3 separate regions of the Homo sapiens genome follow, and regions 1 and 2 are each linked to region 3. The links are contacts of gene promoters, found by promoter capture Hi-C in blood cells and fetal thymus (Javierre and others, 2016). All regions are on one chromosome and are shown on one strand. The core of a region is centred on a gene start or on the middle of the fragment in contact, and the rest is flanking DNA. Distances in the headings are between cores, read along the strand shown. Region 1 has its middle 2.7 kb from the start of ZNF625. Region 2 overlaps ZNF625-ZNF20 (ZNF625-ZNF20 readthrough (NMD candidate)). Region 3 holds the start of ZNF700 (zinc finger protein 700).

What was found. Contacts are between HindIII fragments. The CHiCAGO score rates a contact against its expected background, and 5 or more counts as called.
Region 1: a contact is called between a fragment that was not itself captured here and the fragment with the promoter of ZNF700 in region 3, in 2 of 17 cell types (neutrophils and naive CD8 T cells). The highest score is 7.9, in neutrophils.
Region 2: a fragment that was not itself captured here is called in contact with the fragment with the promoter of ZNF700 in region 3 in 17 of 17 cell types (total CD8 T cells, naive CD8 T cells, non-activated CD4 T cells and 14 more); the score reaches 23.8 in total CD8 T cells.

The regions. Positions count from the first base shown.
Region 1 is chr19:12,157,077-12,161,718 of GRCh38, reverse strand. No RefSeq gene overlaps it. Among named protein-coding and RNA genes, the nearest start is that of ZNF625, 2.7 kb to the right of the region's middle. RefSeq lists an enhancer at 4,631-4,642. The HindIII fragment of the contact is 3,508 bases long and covers 1-3,193 here.
Region 2 is chr19:12,140,487-12,144,854 of GRCh38, reverse strand. ZNF625-ZNF20 (ZNF625-ZNF20 readthrough (NMD candidate)) reads left to right here. Exons shown (of 8, transcript NR_037802.1): 4 at 2,140-2,214. It also overlaps the pseudogene RPL17P47. Among named protein-coding and RNA genes, the nearest start is that of ZNF20, 2.3 kb to the right of the region's middle. The HindIII fragment of the contact is 3,645 bases long and covers 302-3,946 here.
Region 3 is chr19:11,922,840-11,927,502 of GRCh38, reverse strand. It overlaps ZNF700 (zinc finger protein 700), which reads right to left and starts at 2,396. Exons shown (of 4, transcript NM_144566.3): 1 at 2,230-2,396. The coding sequence starts at 2,292. It also overlaps a transcript of ZNF69 not described here. RefSeq lists a silencer at 1,934-2,133 and enhancers at 2,524-2,633, 2,684-2,733, 2,181-2,753, 2,910-3,699, 3,700-4,490. The HindIII fragment of the contact is 3,475 bases long and covers 775-4,249 here.

The DNA of each region.
Region 1 (4,642 bases), core at 190-2,689, 240 kb before region 3:
ACTCTATACATAGAAAAATCAAGGCCGGGCACAGTGGTTCATGCCTGTAATCCCCAACACTTTGAGAGGCCGAGGCGGGCGGATCACTTGAGGTCAGGAGTTCAAAACCAGCCTGGCCAAGATGGCGAAACCCCGTCTCTACTAAAATTACAAAAATTAGCCGGGCGCCTATAATCCCAGCTTCTGGGGAGGCTGAGGCACAAGAATCGCTTGAACCCGGGAGGTAGAGGTTCCAGTGAGCCGAGATCGCGCCACTGCACTCCAGCCTGGGTGACAGAGCAAGACTCCGTCTCAAAAAACAAAAAGTTTTCCGGAAAACTACCTTGGGAAACTAGAGGTACAACCTCAGAAAGGAGAGAAACCCGCACGTGCATTTGCCTGTGAAGTTCCTGCTTTCCAGGGCTCTGCAGCTTCTCAGAATCCACACTCCTGGAGCTGGAGCTGGAGCTGTTCGGAGCAGCTGGAGACTACCTACAGGGGAAGGCAGGCTGCCCAGGAAGCAATCGGGGGAGCTCCCTTTCCCTCCCTTTGCAGGCTCCAGATTAGTCTCAGTGTGGATCACCGGCCTCAGGCTATGCTGCCCCCTGCAAGTTTTCCACCTGCTTTTCACCCACATTGTTCAGTTCCACGAGGCAAACACCCTCAATCCCAGTGTTCGAAAGAGAATCCAGCAGAGTCCCTGCTTTCCTCCTGTGTTTACCGTAAAGTAGAAGAGAAAAATTTCAAGACAGTTTTAAGTGGATTTTAAAACTGGCAAATAATTATTCCTTTGATAAAATGAAGAAGCCAGCAAACTATTATTTCGACATTAACAAACTGTTATATAAAACCACTAATGAAGGTCGGGCGCGGTGGCTCACGCCTGTAATCTCAGCACTTTGGGAGGGCGAGGCGGGCGGATCACCTAAGGTTAGGAGTTCGAGACCAGCCTGACCAACATGGAGAAACCTCGTCTCTAAAAGTACAAAATTAGCCAGGCGTGGTGGCGCGTGCCTGTAATCCCAGCTACTCAGGAGGCTGAGGCAGGAGAATCGCTTGAACCTGGGAGGCGGAAGTTGCCGTGAGCTGAGATCACACCATTGCACTCCAGCCTGGGCAACAAGAGCAACACGGTGAAACTCTGTCTCTACTAAAATACAAAAAATTAGCTGGGCGTGGCAGTGTGCGCCTGTAGTCCCAGCTACTCGGGAGGCTGAGACAGGAGAATTGCTTGAACCCCAGAGGCAGAGGTTGCAGTGAGTTGAGATCGCGCCACTGCACTCCAGCCTGGGCGACAGAGCGAGACTCCGTCTCCAAAAAAAAAAAAAAAAACTAATGAAATATGGACTCTCTTCTGCTTCAGCAGCTCCCTGACCTTCACAGTTGATGGTTGTCACCAGGTGCTCTGTGTCAGGAGATGTACATGTGCAGTTTAGCCATTGAAAATTCTCTCTTAAATCGGGCGCGGTGGCTGCGCTAGGGGGACTCCAGTCCACCGGTCCCGAAGTCGCCCCGGACAGGCCTGGGTCCCGTCACAGCAGGTTCCTGTCCAGCACCTTGCTCCACAGTCTCGGGACATCCCCCCAGCACTCACCATTTCCTGGCTTCTGAGGTGTCTATGGTTCTCCTTATGTCTTTCGTGTTCATTGCAAGTCACAGCTGGAAAGAAGCTGCAGCGAAGCCACCTCTGGTGCTTCTCAGAGCAGCATAGACCTGACACCCACTGTGGGCGGGTGAAAGGAACGCCTCGCAGTTTTATGGAGCTTCGCGGCCTCCTCCCAGAGCCGCGCCTGATTGGACAATTTGCACAGCCACACCCCCCCGCCCCTCCTGATTGGACAGTGCCACGGGCCCCGCCTTCTGGGAGGCGGAGTGAGAGGAGAATTTAACACCTGGCTGAGTGGAGCTTGAATGAAAGGTTCTAGGCCCGACATGTGGCTCACACCTATACAATCCCAGGACTCGGGGAGGGCTGGAAAGGAGAACTGCTTGAGGCCAGGAGTTCAAGACCAGCTTGAGCAACGTAGTGAGACCTCATCTCTAAAAAAAAAAGAAAAAAAAAAAAAATTAGCCCAGCCTGGTGGCCCTGCAACTATAGTCCCAGCTACTTAGCAGGCTGAGTAAAGAGGATTGCTTGAACCTTGAAGGTAGAGGCTGCAGTTAGCTATGATCAGCGCACTGCACTCCAGCCTAGGTGACAGAGTAACACCCTGTCTCGAAAAAAAAAAAAAAGAAAAGAAAAGAAAAGAAAAATATAGATTCTAGCCACAGCCGGATTTCCTCCTTGCACTGCAGCCTGGCCCCCACCCTGGGGATACTGGTATTTCAGAATATGTTTCAGGCTTTCCAGAGCTGACACTGTTGTCTTCCTGTACTCAGTGGGCCCTTCTTTCAGGGGAGGTGGGGGTGGGGGGAGGGGGTTTGAGGTGGGGAGGTTGTCTGCCTTGAGGTCTAGTCAGGCCAACACTGGAAGAGGAGAGAGGCCTGATGTCGTCAGAGATTATAAATTTGGGATGAGGGATAGCCAAAGATTTTTCATACTTTATCTCTCAGTCTACTCATTTTCACTCAAGAAAACAACAAGCCAACAACAGAATAAAACTAAGTGCATGGAAAAGCTGGAATTATATGGCAGCTATATATATACACATATATATACATATATGTGTATATATATACTTATATATGTGTTTGTATATATACACATATATGTGTATATATACAAACACATATATAAGTGTGTGTGTGTATATATATATATATATATATATATATATATATATATATATGTTTTTTTTTTTTTGAAACGGAGTCTCGCTCTGTCGCCCAGCTGGAGTTCAGTGGCACAATCTCAGTTCACTGCAACCTCCATCTCCCGGGTTCAAGCGATTCTCCTGCCTCGGCCTCCTGAGTAGCTGGGATTACAGGCGTGTGCCACCACGCCCGGCTAATTTTTGTATTTTTAGTAGAGACGGGGTTTCACCATGTTGGTCAGGCTGGTCTCGAACTCCTGACTTCGTGATCCGCCCGCCTCGGCCTCCCAAAGTGCTGGGATTACAGGCGTGAGCCACCGCGCCCAGCCGGCAGCAATATTTTATAAAGGAATCAAAAGAAAAGTAAAGCAAACATTTGAAGTAGTTCAGATAAGCAGCCTGCTTCATGCACAGTTCACAAGGAAAACCCTCTGTCAGAAGGTAAATGATATTTCCAAGCTTGGAAGCCAAACTGTGACTGCTGAAATGGAGCCCCCCAGGGCGGGTCAGTCCCAGATGATGAGGCAGAGAAAATTAAGGATTTATCTGGGAGTTTGAAATGCCCTTCTGTCCCCTCCTCAGTTTAGAAATTATTCTCTCCTTTAAGACCTTCATTTTCACCAACAGGAAGCTCTCGACTTGAGTCAGTTTAAGCTAAATTTACTGTTAAATTCATAAACCCGCAGGGCGCGGTGGCTCACGCCTGTAATCCCAGCACTTTGGGAAGCCGAGGCGGACGGATCACGAGGTCAGGAGATCGAGACAATCCTGGCTAACACGGTGAAACCCCGTCTCTACTAAAAATACAAAAAATTAGCCGGGCGTGGTGGCAGGCGCCTGTAGTCCCAGCTACTTGGGAGGTTGAGGCAGGAGAATGGCATGAACCCGGGCGGGAGGCGGAGCTTGCAGTGAGCCGAGATTGCGCCACTGCACTCCAGCCCGGACGACAGAGCGAGACTCCGTCTCAAAAAAAATGATAATAAATACAATAAAATAAAATAATAAATAAAAATTCATAAACCCTTTCTCCAGGAGGCATCCCAAATGGGTCTTGCTCTAATTCTGACCTTCACAGATTTTCTTTTTCTTTTTCTTTCTTTTTTTTTTTTGAGACAGTCTAGCCCTGTCGCCCAGGCTGGAGTGCAGTGGCGCAATCTCGGCTCACTGCAAGCTCCGCCTCCCGGGTTCACGCCATTCTCCTGCCTCAGCCTCCCGAGTAGCTGGGACTATAGGCGCCCGCCACCGCACCCGACTAATTTTTTGTATTTTTAGTAGAGACGGGGCTTCTCCGTGTTAGCCAGGATGGTCTTGATTTCCTGACCTCGTGATCCGCCCGCGTCGGCCTCCCAAAGTGCTGGGATTATAGGCGTGAGCCACCGCTCCCGGCCGTAAAGATTTTTAAATAATAAAAACAGGGGTCTAGGGTGGGGGGATGTGGGAGGGATAACATTAGGAGATATACCTAATGTAAATGACGAGTTAATGGGTACAGCACACCAACATGGCGCATGTATACATATGTAACAAACCTGCACATTGTGCGCATGTACCCTAGAACTTAAAGTTTAATAAATAAAAATTAAAAAAAAAAAACAACAAAACAGGGGTATTCTTGTGTTGACCAAGTTGGTCTTTAACTCTTTACTTTAAGGGATCCTCCAGTCTTGGCCTCCCAAAGTGCTAGGATTACAGGCGTGAACCACCGCACCCTGCCTGTGTTCAGGTCACAATCTCTTCTAGCTTGGATAAAGGGAAAGAAATAAAGGGGGAGAGGGCATGGTTTCATCAATGGAGATTCTCTGCAGATGCAAATTCCCCCCCTCCAAAGACAGCTTTGCCAGTCCACTTTTTTTTGCGGCCGAGCCACAGCCATTTCAAAATCTGTCAAATAAATATATTTTGGCGTAAAA
Region 2 (4,368 bases), core at 875-3,374, 220 kb before region 3:
CCCAGCTACTCAGGAGGCTGAGGCAGGAGAATTGCTTGAATACAGGAGGTGGAGGTTGCAGTGAGCTAAGATTGCGCCACTGCACTCCAGCCTGGGTGACAGAGTGAGACTCCGTCTCAAAATAATAATAATAATAATAAGGTTAGCCCAGCAAAGTGGCAGGTATATATATACAGGAAGGTCAGAAAAATCTTTTCCCTCCTATTGAAAGCCCAATACCTAAGTGGCAAGCCCTCATTTTAAGAAACTCACTAAAGGGATAACGGAAGTGCCATTGTCAGACTCACTGCCTCAGAAAGCTTTATCAAAACAAAAGGCTAAAGTTCCTATTCAAAAATATCCTATAATAAATGGCTGGCTATCGGGTACACTACGTATTTTATGCCATTCGTTCTCACGAGTTTTCTTTTTTTTTTTTTTTGAGACAGAGTCGGGCTCTGTCTCCCAGGCTGGAGTGCAGTTGCACATTCTCAGCCCACTGCAACCTCTGCCTCCTGGGTTCAAGCGATTCTTCTGCCTCAGTCTCCCGAGTAGCTGGCTTTACAGGCATGAGCCACCATGCCCAGCCTCTAAACTCTTTTTTTTTTTTTTTTTTTTTTTTTTTTTTTTTTTTGAGACAGAGTCTCACTCTGTTGCCCAGGCTGGAGTGTGTTGGTGTGAGCTCGGCTCAGTGCAACTTCCACCTCCTGGCTTCCCGGGTAGCTGGGATTACGGGCACCCACCACCACGCTAGGCTAATTTTTTATATTTTTAGTAGAGACAGGATTTCACCATGTTGGTCAGACTGGTCTTAAACTCCTGACCTCAAGTGACCCACACCAGTGTCTCCCAAAGTGCTGGGATTACAGGTGTGAGCCACTGCACCCGGCCTTCTAATCTTTTTCCAGCCTTCAAATTTTTTTTTTTTTTTTTTTTGATACAGAGTCTTGCTCCAGGTTGGAGTGCAGTGGTGTGCTGTCGGCTCACTGCAGCCTCCAACTCCCAGGTTCAAGCGATTCTCCTTTCTCAGCCTCCTGAGTAGCTGGGACTATAGGCGTGTGCCCCCACACCCAGCTAATTTTTGTATTTTTAGTAGAGACAGGGTTTCACCATGTTGACCAGGCTGGTCTCGAACTTCTGACCTCAGGTGATCCACCTGCCTTGGCCTCCCAAAGTGCTGGGATTACAGGCGTTAGCCACTGCGCCCGGCCATTTTTGTATTTTTAGTAGAGACGGGTTTCTCCATGTTGGCCAAGCTGGTCTTGAACTCCTGACCTCAAGTGACCCACCTGCCTCAGCCTCCCAAAATGCTGGGCTTACAGGTGTGAGCTACTGCGCCAGGCCTAATATCTTTTTTTTTTTTTGAGACAGAGTCTTGTTCTGTGGCCAGGCTGGAGTGCAGTGGTGCAATCTTGGCTCACTGCAACCTCCGCCTCCCAGGTTCAAGAGATTCTCCTGCCTCAGCCTCCTGAGTAGCTGGGACTACAGGCATGCGCCACCACGCCCAGCTAATTTTTGTATTTTTAGTAGAGATGGGGTTTCACCATGTTGGCCAGGATGGTCTCAATCTCTTGACCTCATGATCTGCCACCTTGGGCTCCCAAAGTGCTGGGATTATAGGCACCACGCCTGGCCCTAATCTCTTCTCAAAGTACTTTTTTCTTTAATGAATGTCTTAAATAAAAACTTTTTTCTAACCACAAACTTTTTTTTAAATTATTTTATTATGTAATTTTTTTTTAGAGAGTTGGTCTTGCTGTTTGGACCCGGCTGGAGTGCAGTGATATTCACAAGTGTGATCTTAGTGCATGAGAGCTTCATATTCCTGGGCTCACAATCCTTCTACCTCAGCCTGCCAAGTAGCTGTCACTACAGGTACCAGCTGCTGTGCCTGGCTTCCACCTTTTTTTTTTTTTTTTCTTTAATCAGTTCCTTTTAAAGACCAAAGAAAACCTGTCCTCTTGTGTGGCCTGAGTTGATCTATGAACATTATTCACTATGACCCAGAAAATCCCACGAAGTCGTGCATGTTAGAAGGATGAAACCCTCATGTTCACTGTAAACTGTGAAGGTGCTCAGGCCATCACAGGTATGCCTATATGAAAAGCCACCAAGTATCTGAAATATTTTCTTTTACAGAAATTATGTGTACCATTTCAGTCTTAGAAAGTGGAGTTGGTCGCTGTACGCAAGACAGACATTGGGGCTGGACTCACCATCAGTGGCCCCGAAAAGGTACTGAAATTTGCTTACAAGTGCAGAGTTATGCTGAACTTAAGGGTATAGATGTAGATTCCCTGGTTATTGAGCACATCCAGGGAAAAGGCACCCATAATGTACCACCTGACTTACAGAACTCATGGGCAGATGAACCCATCCACAAACTCCCCTGCCACATCCAGATGATGCTTAGTGAAAAGAAACACCTTGTTCCAAAAGCAGAAAAGGAGGATGCACGGAAGAAAAAGATACCCCAGAAGAAACATAAACTTAAGAGACAAACAAATTCAGCCAAAAGAAAATGCAAATAAAAGTTCAAAACAAAACAAAACAAAAAAACCTCTAAAATTCATAAAACACAAAATGACAAACTCTATTAAATATGCCCCTATGATATCTCTTAGATAAAAGTTGGCCGTAATAGAGAAAATGAAGATAGGTGTTGGTGACTGGCAGATTCTGGGTCTACGATGAATCAGAGAAGGATGGTTTTCACTTTGTTTTACATTTTTTTAATGCTTGATGTTGACTTGGTAGAAAGATGATAATAAAGAGATTCTTCTGTCTATGTGTTTCTTTTAGATTACTCATGTGGACTGAAGAAAAAAAATTAAATTTGTTAAAGAAAGTGAGTTTGATTTAGGATTGTGACTGAGGACAATAGCCTGGAAGCAGTTCTGACAGATGGCTGCTATGTAATATTTTGGTTCACAGTTTATAAGAGACATGTGGGCCCTGTGCTCTATCTTGTTTTTTCTTCAAAGCATAATTCTGGAGAGCTGGAGAGTCCCAGAGTCAGGAATGTTATAAAGTCAGGCTGGAAACCAGAAATAAGTAACATGACTAAACATTTGTGTGTTTTTTTGTTTTGTTTTGAGACAGAGTCTCGCTCTATTGCCCAGGCTGTAGTGCAGTGGTGCAATCTCGGCTCTCTGCAACCTCAGCCTCTTTGATACAAACGATTCTTCTGCCTCAGTCTCCCGAGTAGCTGGGATTACAGGTGGGCTCTACCACACCCGGCTAATTTTTGTATTTTTAGTAGAGACGGGATTTCACCATGTTGGTCACGCTGGTCTCCAACTCCTGATCTCAGGTGATCCAGCCACCTCGCCCTCCCAAAGTGCTGGGATTACAGGCTTGAGCCACAGCGCCCAGCCACTACTGCCTCACTTTCATGCAGTTAAATAATCTTGGACACTTCCTCCTCGACTTTATACATACACACTGGAGGAGAGCTTTGCTCGTGTGTTATTCTCGCAGTGGGATTGAGGATGTTTGTCTCATGGAAACTGATGAATGATGTGAGAAGCAGGTGAATAACCTGCAGGGGGCAGCAGAGACCGACGCCAGGGACGGGACGCTGAGGCTAGTATGGATCCTGCCAAGGAGTGAAGTGGAGTTCTGGGTGCTTCCTGGGCAGCCGCCCTCCCCTGCAGGTGGCTTGCAGCTGCTCAGAGCAGATCCAGAAAGAGTGTGGGTTCTGACATGCTGCAGCGCCCTGGAAAGCAGGAGACCCACGTGCAGGTGCACTTCAGGAGTTCTGTCCTTTCTGCGGCTGTACATCTGGAATCTGGGGCGGTTTTCGGGAGCAGTGTTTTGGGTTTGACATGCATAGAGTCCCTGGGGTCAGACTGTAATTTGCATATCTGAAGAAAATCCGTAAAGATCAAGTTCAGGGAAATAACTGTTTGGGACCTCTCCTGGAGAAGGGGCTTATGCAGTTGACAGTTTATTTAGGTCAGAAGCTTAAAATCACCAAGTGAGAGTTTTCTGCCGATGAAGATGAAGGTCTGGAAGGAGGGAGAGTTTCCACACTGTGAGGTGGGGTGAGATGTGTGAAAGCCTTGGCCATGTCTCATCCCTAATTCCGGGCCCCTGAAGGACAACTGCCTCTCCTTCTTGGTGCAGTCGTGCCTGGCCTGATCTGGGCTCCCCTTCCTGCTCTGAGGTCAGCACATCGCTCCATTGGACACTCAGTCTGGAATTCCCTGCACACACTTACAACCCTGTGCAGGACGAAGAAGCACTGACAGCCCATTGAATGAGGAAGAAGATAGTGCCCTGTGTAAAAATCAGGAGCAAATTTGGCTGAAAAGAAAATATCCAATGACCAGGGCTCAGGGAAGGAGTTGTCCCTTAGAGAGAAGCTGTGGCTAGAACCGATCAGTC
Region 3 (4,663 bases), core at 1,147-3,646:
TCTGAAACAGAGAAGCTTTTTCTTTCTTTTTCCTTTTCTATTTATTTATTTATTTATTTATTTATTTATTTATTTATTTAAATAGAGACAGGGTCTCGCTGTGTTGGCCAGGTTGGTCTTGACCTCTTTCCTGTTTGTTTTGGTTTTTGAGATGGGGTCTCACTCTGTTACCCACACTGGAGTGCAGTGGTACATCCTCGGCTGGGCTGCAACCTCTGCCTCTGGGGTTCAAGTGATTCTCTCACATCAGCCTCCTGAACACCTGGGACTACAGGTGCAGGCCACCACACCCGGCTAATTTTTGCTAGTTTTGGAAGAGATGGGGTTTCACTATGTTGCCCAGGCTGGTCTCGAACTCCTGACCTCAAGTTATCCTCCCACCTTGGCCTCCCAAAGTGCTTGGATTACAGGCCTAAGCCATCATGCTGGCCCAGAGTAGCTTTCAATAAACTCTCTTCTCACTGCACTTTGTGACTCGTCTTGAATTCCTTCCTGTGTGAGATTCAAGAACTCTCCTGGGGTCTGATCAGGACCTCTTTTCCTGGTAATACAAGCAAGAACTTAACTTCCAGTTTTGGAGTACTGAGTCTATTTCCCTAGAGTCTGTGTTTTTCCCAAATGGGCCACTGCTATCCTTCCGCTTGAATAAACTCTTCCAACTGAAATCTTGACCTTTCTATTATTTCGGAGTGACAAGTCCAAATAAGGCAACTGCATCTCTGCAACCAATCAAGCATTTATCTGGTTTGTCTCCTCACGTAACTTATAAAAGCTTACCCCTAAACTGGTAAACTAAAAATAAAAACATACCTCTGGCCCGGCGAGATGGCTCACATCTGTAATCCCAGCACTTTGGGAGGCTGAGGTGGGTGGATCACTTGAGGTCAGGAGTTCGAGACCAGCCTGGCCAACATGGTGAAACCCCATCTCTACTAAAAATACAAAAATTAGGAGGGCATAGTGGTGCATGCCTGCAATCCCAGCTACTCAGGAGGCTGAGGCAGGAGAATCACTTGAACCCGGAAGGTGGAGGTTGCAGTGAGCCGAGATCAGGCCATTGCACTCCAGTCTGGGCGACAGGAGACTCCGTCTCAAATAAAAACAAAGTACCTTTCCAGCTAAGTGAAGTGACCGGCTCTTGGCCAACAGGACCCGCAAAAAACCCTGAAAATTGAGTGCCTCTGTATGACAGGATGGGAGGTGAGACAGGTCTCCTTATACCCTCTCCCACACATTCATGTAAAAATAGATAGAATGGAAAAACAGACTGCTTGTGGCAAGAAGATACTAACTTACAAACAAAACCTAAGGCCACGCAAGGCAAAAGTAAAGTCACGCCTCAGAATTCATAAAATCTAGAGAAACAGGTCTGTTTTCTGGCTGGGATGGAATCAAGTGGCAGATAACAGACCCCCTTCCTTCCTACCTCCTCCAAACTTTAGACAAACTTCACACTCTCAACCAGCTGCCACCTACAGAATCCCTCAACCACCTGTGCCTTCTAACCCCCCTTCCACAGGTCCCACCCTTTCTGCCAATGGAACTTACACCTTTCAGGCACTGATTCATCATTTTCCCTGCAATTCCTGTCTCTCTGAAATGAATAAAACCAAACTGTCTTGAGCCGCCTCGGGACCACTTACTCCAGGCTGCTTGGGGTTGTGTTTCCCTCGGCCAAGGTCTCTCCTATTCGGCTCTGAATAAACTTCTTTATTTTACATAGTTTGGCTTTTTCCGTTGACAAACCACAACCCAGGACGGGGTGTTTCTCATTCGTGAATCGCTGTTTGCTCAAATGAACTCTTTAATTGTTAACGTACCTCAGTTTAATTTTTAACAGGAGAAAGTGGGGACTGGGGGCCCCACAGACCACTGCTCCTCCCACGCACGAACCCCACACCCGAGTCAGGATGCCTCCATGACCCTCCCGTTGCTTCCGCACAATCTGGGGAGACGCGGGGCTGCGGGAGCGGAACTGCCCAGAGAGGGCTCCGGGGCAGGGGCCGCGGCCGCAGTCGCCGCGCAGGGACGGGACAGGACGCCCGGGTCCTGGCTGCTGGCCCAGCCCCGTCCAGCGGCCAAGGGGACCGAGGGCCGAACTGCTCAAGGAGGACTCGGTCCCAGACCCCGGAGTCGCCCACAGGGAGGCCCGGGTCCCGCCACAGCCGGTTCCCGCCTGTTCCAGGCAGCCCCTCCCCCGTCTCACGACATCTGGTCCCGCACACGCACCATTTCCCGGCTTTCAGATGTACCGGGGTCCTCTCTACAGCTCCTGTGACTACAGCAGGGCATAGCGCAGGCGACAGAGCGACAGAAGCCTGGGTACAGGCACCAGGTCCCTCTCGGGCTGGTCTGACCGGTTACCAACCGCCGCCCGCGCAGCGAGGAAGGTGAGGAAAGCGACCCCCTCCATTTCCGGATGAACTGTGGGCAGTGCCACGCCCCAGCACCTCTGATTGGATGAAATACTAGGTCCCGCCCCCCACATCTGAGTGACAGCTGAAGCCCTGGGTATCAGGCCCCGCAGAGCCAGACTGACGGATTCTAGCCACAGCTTCTCTAAGGGCGAGCTGCTTTCTGCACTCTGGTTATTGGATATTTGCATTTCAGCCAAACTTGCTATTGATAGAAGAGAACACTAGCGTCATCCTCACTCAAGGGACAGTCCCCGCTCCTTCGTTCTGCACGGGGTCACAGGAGTGTGCAGGGAATTTCAGACTCAGTGTCCATAGGAGCCAACTGCTGGCCTCAGAGCAGCAGGGGAACCGAGACCAGGCCAGGCACGACTGCACCAGGAGGAGAGGCATATGTCCTCGAGCGGGCCGGAATTGGGGATGAGGCGTGGCCAAGCCTTGCTCACACACCCCCATCCCCTTGTGAAAATGCTTCCTCCTTTCAGATCTTCATTTTCACCAGCAGGAAACTCTCACCAGGTTTTGTTTCTGACCTAAGTAAACTGTCAACTTCATGAACCCTTTATCCAGGTGACGCCACCAAACAATTCTGTCTCTAGCTCTAGCCTGATCTTCACACATTTTCTTTTCTTTCTTTCTTTTTTTTTTTTTTTTTTTGAGACGGAGTCTTGCTCTGTAGCCCAGGCTGGAGTGCAGTGGTGCGATCTCGACTCACTGCAAGCTCCGCCTCCCGAGTTCACGCCATTCTCTTACCTCGGCCTCCGGAGTAGCTGGGATTAAAGGCGCCCGCCACCACGCCCGGCTAATATTTTGTATTTTCAGTGGAGACGGGGTTTCACCGTGTTAGCCAGGATGGTCTCGATCTTCTGACCTCTTGATCCGCCCGCCTCGGCCCCGCAAAGTGCTGGGATTACAGGCGTGAGCCACCGCGCCCGGCCACACATTTTCTTTATCTATACAAATAACTCTGACCCCAACGACCCCATGCATGTCAAACCCCAAACCCTGCCCAGAAGACAGCTCCAGAGGTACAACACCAGAAAGGACAGAGACGCCACAAATGCGTCTGCACATGGGTCTTCTGCTTTCCAGGGCTCTGCAGCTTCTCGGAATCCACACCCTTTCTGGAGCTGCTCTGAGCAGCTGGAGGCCACTTGTAGAAGGGGGTGGGCTGCCCGCGAAGCCCCCAGGGAAACTCTCTTTCCCTCCCTTTGCAGGCTGCAGAGACTGTCCTCAACGTGGAATCACTGGCCTTGGGCTCTGCTGCCCCCTGCAGGTTATTCAGCTACTTCTCACCCCATCGATTAGTTTCGCGAGACAAACACCTTCAATCCCATTGTGTAAATAAGACACCAGCAGAGTCCCTGCTCTCCTCCTATGCTTATGTATAAAGTGGGGGAGGAAAAATCTAAGATAACTTAAGGGCATTTGAAAGACTTCCAGATCGCGGTGGAGGTGGCAGCTGAGGGACTCGCAGTCAATGACACTGCAGCACCTCCAGGCCAGGCTGGTGGGAGAGAGGGTGGAGAGCTGGAGATGGATGTGGATAGGTGGAGGGAGCTGCCCTGGGAACTGGGCTCTGCAGCAGTGCGGCTCTAGGGCCCGGAGCCCGGGAGAGCAGAGATGGGGGCTCCCAGGACAGGAAACTCAGGGAGGAGAGAGTCGGGTGGCTTCCATGGGACGGGGTGCTGTTGCAGCTTGTGTGAGCCAGTAGCTATCATAACTAAGCCCAATCGGGACGTGAAAACTTGGATTCCGTGGGAATTTATGAAGAGGAAGGCTCTGATGACAAAGAAGTCATCGATGAGGAGGGGGATGAGGGTCACTGGCAAGCTTGCTTCCTTATGGAAAGAAAAGTGAACACCCAACTACTGCTGCAAAATGGGATCAAAGGATGAGACTCTCGCTGTCAGGGAATAAACTGCTGCAGAACTCTTAGAGATTGCAAAGACCTTTCAACAACAGCCTGGGAGGCCAGGTGCCATGGCTCATGCCTGCAATCCCAACATTTTGGGAGGCCAAAGTGGCAGGATCACTTGAAGCCCGAAGTTGAAGACCACCCTGAGCAGTGAAGTGAGACACTCCCATCTCCATAAATCTATTTTTTAATTAGCCAGGAGAGGTGGTGTGTACCTGTAATCACAGCTACTCAGGAGGCTGAGGCAGGAGGATCACTTGAGCCCCAAAGTTTGAGGCTGCTGTGAGCTGTGATCAGGTTACTGAACTTCAGCAAGACACTGTCTCAAAAA